Regions from separate parts of the Homo sapiens genome. Here all the other regions are linked to region 1. The links are contacts of gene promoters, found by promoter capture Hi-C in human tissues and cell types (Jung and others, 2019). All regions are on one chromosome and are shown on one strand. Each heading gives the region's core, a stretch centred on a gene start or on the middle of the fragment in contact. The rest is flanking DNA. Distances are from core to core; before and after follow the strand shown.

Region 1 (3,214 bases), core at 294-2,793:
TTGCTGGAGGGAGGACTGAAAAGAACAAGTGCCTGATCTACCTTCCCCTCTGCCCTTTCACAGGTGGGTGGATGCGTGGGAAGAGGGTGGGGCATTTCCTGCTATTCCCCCTTATTCACCTTTTCTCCACGGGGATTAGAGTCTTGACCGGAAAACATGGCTCTGGTCCCCAGCCCCTATGGGACTGAAAACCCGGAGGCTTGCATGTCTCAGATCCTCCAGAGGCTGATGTAAGAGTTGCTGAAGACCTCGGATCTTTCCTTTTGTGAAATGCAGCCCATGTGGCCGGGAAAATAGTGGGAGCTGGAAGTAACAGTTGTGGTTTTAAGCACACAGTAGATGCTCAAGAAATATATTGAGTACATGTCTTGGACTTTCCCCTCCCTAAATATTATCTGTCAAGTGGGCCTATTGGACTTGTTGACCTTGGAGGGCCCTGTCGGCTTGACCCACCAATTCGAAATGGTTGAGAAAGAGGTCTGTCTTTGTACCTTTTGCAGCCTGTTTTCCCAGTTCTTAGAACATTGGGGTGAGATCCAGAGATTTCAGAGATCCCCCTGGAACACGAGTGTTCTGTGACGAGTTCATGACCTTGGAGCCACCAACCATACCCCTCACCCGTTGTCCCCAGTTCTGGCCTTGCCGACCCACTGCGTGTTTCTTTGCTTCATGTGGGCTGTTCCCCGGGGAGGGAGCTCAGTGGAGAACAGAAAGAGGTGTGGGTGAGGGCTCCCCCTTGGTGGGGAGTGGGGCACAGGAGCCTCAGGCTCTGTTGACCATCAAAGAAGGGACTCGAGTGGGCAGGCCGCTCACTTGCTGTGGACCTTGGGCAAGTCTCTAACTCTCCCTGGGCCTTGGAAGTCAGGCCGAGGTGATCTCTGCCGCCCCCTCCCTGCCTGGGTTTTCACTCTTGTTCTGATCCCACTCTCTTCCGGGTGCCTCCCTTCCACTTCTCCGTAGCCTGTGGCTCCCCTCCCCACACCCGCCCTGGGCCCGGGTTAGGCTGGGGCGGGGGCGAGCTGCCCAGTCCAGAGACAAAGTCCAAGAGCCGCGAATGGGCTGGCGAGGGTCAACCGCGTGGCCTCTGCCAGGAAGCGCGCCGAGCGCCCGGGTGAGGAGGGCGTCAGCCAGGGCACAGCAGCTTTCTCGCCCAGCGAAGCCTGTGCGCCTTCCTCCCGCGCCTGCAGACAAGCGGAGCCCATGGGGGCCGTGGGCCCCACCTATCCCGACGTCTCCACTTGATCCAGAAGTTGTCCCAGTCCCCTTGGAGCATGAGCTGTTGCCTGGACAGCTGGGCTGTCGCCCAGGTTCTGCCACTGTCTAGCTGTGTAACCTTGAGCCAGTCCCTGCCCCTCTCTGGTCCTCAGTTTCCCCACCTGTAAAATGGGGGCACCGAGAACCCTCCTCCAGGACCTGCGGCGGGGCGGGGCGGCAGGGCGGGGGCCTCCCCGCCGCTCCCGCGCCCGCGGCTTGGGCTCCGCAGTGAGTGGGGAGCGGCGCCGGGGAAGGAGCGCTCCGCGGTCATGTGACGTCCCCCTCCCCGAACTGCGGCGGCGGCGAGCGCCGGCCGCATCTGAGCAGAGCTGCAGCGGCGGCCGCGGGCACCAGAGTGCCGAGCCCAGGACGCCCCCGGCCCAGGCCCTTGGGTGAGTGCGCCCCGCCAGGGCTGCGGCCCTGGAAAGGGGAAGGGGACAGAGGTGTCCAGACTCCCGTCGGCTCGCAGCGAAGACCCCGCGCGGGCGGGCGGGGACGGAGGGTGGGGGCGAACGCGTGGGGGACCCGGGTCTCCAGGGGCGAGGGGTGGGCGCAGCTGGGCTCGCGCAGCCCGGTCTTGACAGCAGCTGGAGAAGTGGGGGGAGGCCTGGACTGAGCCGGCTGAACCCCCAGCCTGTTGGACTTGGTCCAGGCCGCGGCCAGGGGGCTTTGGTCCCACCCCCCTGGGTGGGTGGGGAGTCCAGTTTTCCGCCCACCTCGAGGTGGGGGCGCCTGGGGTTTAGAGGAGGGACTGTGGGAAGTGGGCGCGTTTCCTCCATCCCTGGGGAGGGGCCCAAGCCCTAGCGCCCCCCAGAGGGTGGCGCTCCTGTCCTCAGAGGAGGGAAGTGGGGGCCTCAGATCAAGGACCCTGAGCGGGGAGGGCGGTGATGTCCTTGCATCCCCAGAGACAGGACGCATTCCCCTGTCCCTGACCCCCGCGGCAGAGCGGGGCACACGCGTCACGAAGTTGGGCGCCCCCTCGTCGCCTCCCCTGGCTCGGCAGGATCTGAGGACTCGGTGGGAATTCACGGGGCGGTTTCCGTGCCCTGCAGGGTTTGGTGCCAGCTGCGGGGCGCCTGGGCTTGGGGAAGAAACCTTGTGTACGCACACCTGCACACACACACAGTCTCCGGAGGTGAGCGGCCCCCTCCCTACCATAACAGACCCCAGCCTGTGCATGCCCTCGGAGTCCTTGTTGGGGTCATAGCACAGGCCCGGTGGTGGGGTCAGGAAGAACATCCACTGTTCTCAGGGCTCATTGGCCTCTGTCCCCGGGCTCCATTCCCCTCCCTGCCAAGTCAGAGGTCAGGCCCCTGGGGCGGCAGGCAGGAAGGACACTGAGGGAAGGGGCACTGAGGCAGGAGGGGCACTGAGGGAAGCTGGCCAGGTGGAAGTAGGAGAGAAAGGCAATGGGGGTGAGATGGTACCACTTCCTCCCCATATGAGGCTCTCAGGAGGCTCCTGGCCCCCCCTGCACAGGTAGTGGTCCCTCCTTCCTGAGGGTGTTTGGGGGAAAACGCTATGGTTGGGGCACTGGGGAAGGTTGCCTCGCAGATGAAACAGAACATTGGCCAAAGGTGTCCCTGAATGGGCTTCTGGACTGGCACAGGGCCCTGAGGGCTGTGGCTGAGTGGGGAGGCAGTGATCAGGTCCAGCTGGCCATGGGGGCCCCCCATTCCCTTCTCCATGACCTCAGCCTCACTCTGAGAGCCCCCAGCAGCTGGAAGGTCTGGTAAGGGGTGCGTGTTCCTTGATGGCCTTGGGAAGGGTTCCAGGGTAATGATTAATCCTCAGGTGGCACGAGCAATTTCCCCCTTCACAGCAATATTTCAGGGCAGGCGCTGAAGCCTCCATTGCACAGGTGAGGAAACTGAGGCTCGGAGAGGCTAAATGAACTGCCTGAGGTCACCTAGTCACCTTCAGCAAGGTCTAGAATCGTGGTACTCTGACTCTTGATGGG
Region 2 (3,214 bases), core at 198-2,697, 180 kb before region 1:
TATGGCAGGGGACCCAGGGTGCAGGGGCTGTGGCGGAGGCGGGGCCTGTACGCTGGGCGGGGGAGGCGGCACACTGCCCCACACGTTCCACCAGCAGAAGCCAGGCCTCATCTCCCTCCCTCCCAGTTTCTAGCATGGGATGGCTCGGAGCAGAGCCAGTGAGAGTTTGAATGAATCACTGAGGCTGAGGGAGTGGTGACAATAGCCCCCGTCCCTGTCCTCACGTACCTCTGGCTCCTCCTGGCCCAGGTGCACGGCTCCCGTCTGCGGCTCCCCCAGGTCTCACCAGCTGATTCTGGAGAATATGTGTGCCGTGTGGAGAATGGATCGGGCCCCAAGGAGGCCTCCATTACTGTGTCTGTGCTCCACGGCACCCATTCTGGCCCCAGCTACACCCCAGGTGAGGAGCCAGGTGTGGCTGGGCCGGGGCTGAGCCCTAGGAGCTCCCAAGGAAGATGCCTGTGGCTTCTTCAGTGGGACCAGGACAGGGGGGCATTCCAGGCAGGCTTTGACCCTTCAGCGCCTGCTCAGAGAGAGAAGGAGGTTGAGTGGACGGGAGGGAGGTTAAGGCTGGTCCAGCTTACCTGGGCTCCCTATGAGTGACTGTTTCAGAATTTGTCAGGAAGCAGCAGAATGTCCAGGTTGAATACTAAGCTGGGAGTCGGCTGACCTGGTTCAAATCCCAGATCTGCCCCTTAGCAACCTTGAACTAGCTTTTAACTTTTGGGGCCTCAGATTCATCTATGAAATGGAGCAGTACTGCCCACCTGCTTGGTCATGGTGTGGTTTTTTTATTATTTTATTTTATTTTATTTTATTTTATTTTATTTTATTTTATTTTTTTGAGAGAGAGTCTCGCTCTGTCACCCAGGCTGGAGTGCAGTGGCGCGTGATCTCGGCTCACTGCAAGCTCCGCCTTCCGGGTTCACACCATTCTCCTGCCTCAGCCTTCTGAGTAGCTAGGACTACAGGCACACCCGCCACCAGGCCGGCTAATTTTTTGTATTTTTTTTAGTAGAGACGGGGTTTCACCGTGTTAGCCAGGATGGTCTCGATCTCCTGACCTCGTGATCCGACCGTCTCAGCCTCCCAAAGTGCTGGGATTATAGGCATGAGCCACCGCGCCTGGCCAGTCATGGTGTGGTTTAAATGAGACAGTGTCTATGGAAAGTACTTGTGAGCACACGGAAGACGTCCTGTAGAAGGGAGGTGTCTCACTGTCATCCGCATCCTTGGGCGCAGCCTGGGTAGTAAAGCTTGCTGGTTCCCTATGGGCCAGAGGAGCTCATCATCAAGAAGTCATGGGTGGGTCAATGGGCCTCCAGCTTGTGGTTAGAGGCTGGGGAGGGAAGAAGCCATATTCGGCTGGCCATGTGGAGGCAGAAGGGTGTGGCCCTAGTCCCAGAAAGGCCACCTGTCGGCCGTCCCCACTAGGGCCTGGTCACAGCCCAGAGCCTTCTGCCCCAGGGCTACAGGTTACAGCCCAAGAGTTCAGGCCTCTGAGCAGCCGCTCTGTGTCCAGTGCCCGGCAGCACCCGGCCCATCCGCATCGAGCCCTCCTCCTCACACGTGGCGGAAGGGCAGACCCTGGATCTGAACTGCGTGGTGCCCGGGCAGGCCCACGCCCAGGTCACGTGGCACAAGCGTGGGGGCAGCCTCCCTGCCCGGCACCAGGTATGGCAGCCCCCCGGGACCACCTTGCTGGAGGGGCTGGATGGGACTGTTCCAGCCCCCTCCCAACCCACCCCATTTGCACACAGACCCACGGCTCGCTGCTGCGGCTGCACCAGGTGACCCCGGCCGACTCAGGCGAGTATGTGTGCCATGTGGTGGGCACCTCCGGCCCCCTAGAGGCCTCAGTCCTGGTCACCATCGAAGCCTCTGTCATCCCTGGTGAGTGACTCCCAGTGACATGGAAAGCTGGAGGAGGCAGAGAGGCCTCCGGGGTGGTGAGATCCAAGGGACCCCTCTTGCTGACAGGGCAGAAGGCCCACACCGGAGCTGGCTGCAGGGCCCTGCCCAGGCCGACTCCACCTGTCAGAGTAACCACCGCCTTCCCGTCACACTTTGCTTTGGCCACATGACTCCTCAGGCGTCCCCTCCCACCTCCTCTTCCTCTCTCCAACTCATCTCTGCCCTCATCTCTCTCACTTCCTCACTCCCCTCTGCAAGGCGTGGCCCATGCCCTGGTCCTCCCATCAGGGTTGCTGAGCTGAGGGCATCAAGTCCAGGCCCCCAGATGCCTGAAAAGCTGGATCTGGCCTTGAAACCCTGGGCTGAGCTAGCTGCAGGGTGGGCAACCCCTGCCCTCTCATCTCAGGAGCATCTACAACTCTCACTCCCATCCCCACTGCTGCAGGACCCATCCCACCTGTCAGGATCGAGTCTTCATCCTCCACAGTGGCCGAGGGCCAGACCCTGGATCTGAGCTGCGTGGTGGCAGGGCAGGCCCACGCCCAGGTCACATGGTACAAGCGTGGGGGCAGCCTCCCTGCCCGGCACCAGGTACAGGGCACCAAGAATGTGGGACGGGGCCATGGACAGTGGGTTGCAGGATCCTGGCCCCTAGGCTGAGGGGCTGGCACTTCCTAGATCGGGGGGACAGCGGTGGGGCATTTGCTGGCCTCCGGGAAGCCCCCCTCACACCTCTGCCCACGGCTGCCCAGGTTCGTGGCTCCCGCCTGTACATCTTCCAGGCCTCACCTGCCGATGCGGGACAGTACGTCTGCCGGGCCAGCAACGGCATGGAGGCCTCCATCACGGTCACAGTAACTGGGACCCAGGGGGCCAACTTAGCCTACCGTGAGTGGGGCCACCAGGCTGGGCTGGGATGCAGAGAACAGGCTGGAGTGGCTTCAGAGAACAGGAGTGACCGGTGACCATCTTATCCCTCAGCTGCCGGCAGCACCCAGCCCATCCGCATCGAGCCCTCCTCCTCGCAAGTGGCGGAAGGGCAGACCCTGGATCTGAACTGCGTGGTGCCCGGGCAGTCCCATGCCCAGGTCACGTGGCACAAGCGTGGGGGCAGCCTCCCTGTCCGGCACCAGGTATGGGACTGGAGGACAGACAGGCCAAGAAGAGGAAGCGGGTCCCTGGGTGGCGGAGGTTATTGGGGGAGGGCTAGAGGCTCCCCTGAGATCAGGAAGCCCTGGACCCCATTGCACAGATGTATAGTGCAGTGGTTAGAAACCAGAATCTAGGACTGACTAACCTG
Region 3 (3,214 bases), core at 431-2,930, 170 kb after region 1:
CCCTGTTTCAAAAGAAGTATATTTCTTTCTTGTAGGAATTTACTAAAAACCACAAGAAGTGGCCAGCCAAACATTTCAAAATGCTAAAATTTTCCCACAAGTCTCCTAAAGAAGTAGCCTTATGTAGGCACATGGTTTAAATTCCAAGATTCAGCAGGCTGTGGAGTAACCAATTCTTTAATTACCAACTATTTGAGAGTTGCCACCTTCCCAGCCAAGAGCCTCAGGTCCAGGTCTCCTGCACCTACCTTGTCAGCTCTACAAGTCCCACTGTGCAAGGCCTGTTACTTGCAACATCCCACTTCTGGTACCAGTTTCATCACCAGTTAGAAAGCTCCAAGTAACAGAAAATACAACTTCTCAAACTGGTTTTGAAAATAATGGAATGTATGGGCTCACTAAAATGAAAAGTCTATAACCAGAGGCAGGGCACGATGGCTCATGCCTGTAATCCTAGCACTTTGGGAGGCCAAGGCAGGAGGATGGCTTGAGCCCAGGACTTGGAGACCAGCCTGGGCAATGTGGCAAAATCCCATCTCTACAAAAAAACAAACACTACAACAACAATAACAAAACCCCACAAAAAGTAGTTGAGCATTATGGCACGTACCTGTAGTCCCAGCTACTTTGGAGGCTGAGGTGGGAGGATGGCTTGAGCTGGTGGTGGAGGGGGTATGGGGGTGTCGAGGCTGCAGCGGGTAGTGATCACACCACTGCATTCCAGCCTGGATGACAGAGTGAGATCCTGTCTCAAAAAAAAAAAAAAAAAAAAAAGTCTACATCCAGAGCGTCTTCCCAGTGGTTCAGTGATATAATCAGGACCTTGCTTTTCTGTCTTTCCATTCTCAGCTCCTCTTCCTCCCTCTTGGGCCCATTCTCACCCAAGCAGAGGTTCCCAGGTGATATATGGAAGTCACTGTTAATATATTAAAAAAAAAAAAGAAGAAGAAAAAAAGAAAGAAAAGAAAGAAAGAAAATCTATTTCCCCAAACAAACACAAGTCTTGGAATTGCATCTCCTGGACCCAGCCTCCACGATGAGCTCCCTAAGCCTGTCACAACAGTGATTGATTTAAGCCAATCCAGGCCCACCCTTGGAGATGGAGTGGAGTTCAACCCACCCAATCTGCCCTGAAAAGAGAAGAGGGGAGTGGGTGCTGGAGAGGCAACTCACAAGTGTCCCACACACAATAGCTTTAGGATTTAGGCAAGCACTTGAAGTAAATAATAATAAAAATATTGTATATGTGTAAAGTCCAATATGTTTTAAAATATATAAATCATCTAGGTTCATGCTAGGAAGTGTAAATGCAAAAAGTCAAGTAAACTAAAATGCCTGGTAATCTTATCACACAGAGATATCCCATTTAACACCTTGGTTTTTATCTTTCCAAATCTAATTTTTAAAAAAACTTTAAAAGGATAGGCGCGTAGGATGATACATATTGAGAGTCCCTGCTTTTCTCCCATCATACGCCAACATTTTCCTAATCCTGTCCAAGTTTTTAAGCCCTTTGGATGCATTATCTCATTTACTCCTCTGGGTAGGGGTTATTATGATCCCCATTCAACAGAGAATGAAAACGGAGGCTTGGAGGCTAAACCAAGATCAGGCACCCAGCATGTGGCTCCCAGCCTAGGCCCCCTAACCACGGGGCCTCACAGTCTCTGTCAGGGGAGAGAGAGGGCATGCCCACAAGCCCTTCTGGAAGGTGAGAGTGACTGTGTGGCACACCTCCAGGACAGTCCAGTCTCCTTGACAGCCTCCTTCTACGTGGTCCCAGGTGTTTCTGGGCACTCAGAGTAAGGAAGACTAGTGGGTTTAATGTTTATCACCTCAAAGTGCAGTGTCAGGAATCCCAGGGATTCTGGACTCTTCACATACCTCCAGGGGGCGGGAGTGGTTAGGGCAGCGGGGGACAGAGGGCAAACATCCCTCCTCAGATTTCAACTCCTCCAGTTTTCTGTGTGCTTGCAGGGCTAGAGTGAGCGCGTGATGGGGTGGGCTCCGAAGGCCTGAGCCCTCATCTCCTAGCAGTTGCAAATGAAAAGGTCTATAGTGATGGACTGTGGCCCAGGCTCTGAAGTCAGACTACCTGGGCTCAAATCTGGCTCCAGTAGCTGCTTGACCTTGAGCAAGTGAGGCTCTCCGTGCCTCAGTTCTTCATCTGTGAAATGGGAATGTTAACAACTTCCACAGAGGGTTGTTGGGAAGTTTATGTAAAATAATACCTGTAAGTCCCTTGGAAGAGATATACCTGCTCTTATGAGCATTATTTTATTGGATATCTATATTAATGAAAAATTTAGTTGCAGGTAATGGAAAACCTCTCCACTGGCATAACCAAAGAGAATAGTTTATTAAAAGGGGGGTTCGTCCATGACAGCCAAGGGCAGGAAGGCAGCCAATACTCCAGAAGAGACTGGAAGCAGAGATTTGATCAGTTACCAGTCCAACCCATTTCCTATCTCTGAGTTTCTTCTCTCTGTGCCTGCTTTGTTCGTCTGTGCTTGTAGACCCATTTTCTCCTCCTCCTTGTTGTTGCAGCAGGACCTTGCCTCCCCAGGGCTCCCCAAGCAAGTGCATTGCAATCCCAGTGCCCAGGAGAGACAATTGGATTGGCCCAGCTGGGTCCTCTCCTGGTCCAATCAACCACAGATGGGGGCTGAATCATGCGATGCCAACATGGCAGCTCCCAAAGACATTGGATTGGCCCAGCTTGGTCCACTCCTGGTCCAATCAACCATGGATAGGGGCGGGATCATGCAGTGCCAACATGGCAGCTCCCAAAGAAGAGGGGACTGGCCTGTGAATGGGATGAGACACCCCCAATCCCCCGCCCCCAGATGATGAAATTCAGTTATCCTACTTCCCTCTGCCACAAACTACTTTTGCTCCTTGGTTCTACAACTAAGAGGACACACGCTGCTCCGGTTTGAATGTCCCCTCCAAGATTAAGGTTGACAATCCTGCATGTGGCAGTATTGAGGGGTGGTGCCTTTAAGAAGTGCTCATAAGGGGCTCGCTCTGCTCTCGTGAACAGATTAATCCATTTATGGATTAATGAGTTATCATACAAGTGGAACTGATGTCTTTATAAGAAGAAGAAGATGAATTCAGATGTAGTTGTCAGCTCCTGTAGTCTCAGCTACTTGGGAGGCTGAGGCAGAAGGATCTCTAGAGCCCAGGAGTTTGAGGCTACAGTGAGCTATGA

The links. Contacts are between HindIII fragments. The study calls those that stand out against the background at their distance.
Region 2: a contact is called between a fragment that was not itself captured here and the fragment with the promoter of RAP1GAP in region 1, in 3 of the 25 tissues and cell types used here (H1 embryonic stem cells, mesenchymal stem cells and mesendoderm cells).
Region 3: a fragment that was not itself captured here is called in contact with the fragment with the promoter of RAP1GAP in region 1 in 1 of the 25 tissues and cell types used here (IMR-90 fibroblasts).

The regions. Positions count from the first base shown.
Region 1 is chr1:21,667,686-21,670,899 of GRCh38, reverse strand. It overlaps RAP1GAP (RAP1 GTPase activating protein), which reads left to right and starts at 1,543. Exons shown (of 25, transcript NM_002885.4): 1 at 1,543-1,646. RefSeq lists an enhancer at 1-823 and a silencer at 1,472-1,621. The HindIII fragment of the contact is 12,626 bases long and covers 1-3,214 here.
Region 2 is chr1:21,851,379-21,854,592 of GRCh38, reverse strand. HSPG2 (heparan sulfate proteoglycan 2) reads left to right here. Exons shown (of 97, transcript NM_005529.7): 50 at 250-400; 51 at 1,523-1,674; 52 at 1,761-1,893; 53 at 2,360-2,505; 54 at 2,667-2,802; 55 at 2,896-3,047. Among named protein-coding and RNA genes, the nearest start is that of LDLRAD2, 41 kb to the right of the region's middle. RefSeq lists an enhancer at 1,478-2,677. The HindIII fragment of the contact is 5,961 bases long and covers 1-3,214 here.
Region 3 is chr1:21,496,580-21,499,793 of GRCh38, reverse strand. No RefSeq gene overlaps it. Among named protein-coding and RNA genes, the nearest start is that of ALPL, 11 kb to the left of the region's middle. The HindIII fragment of the contact is 4,936 bases long and covers 1-3,214 here.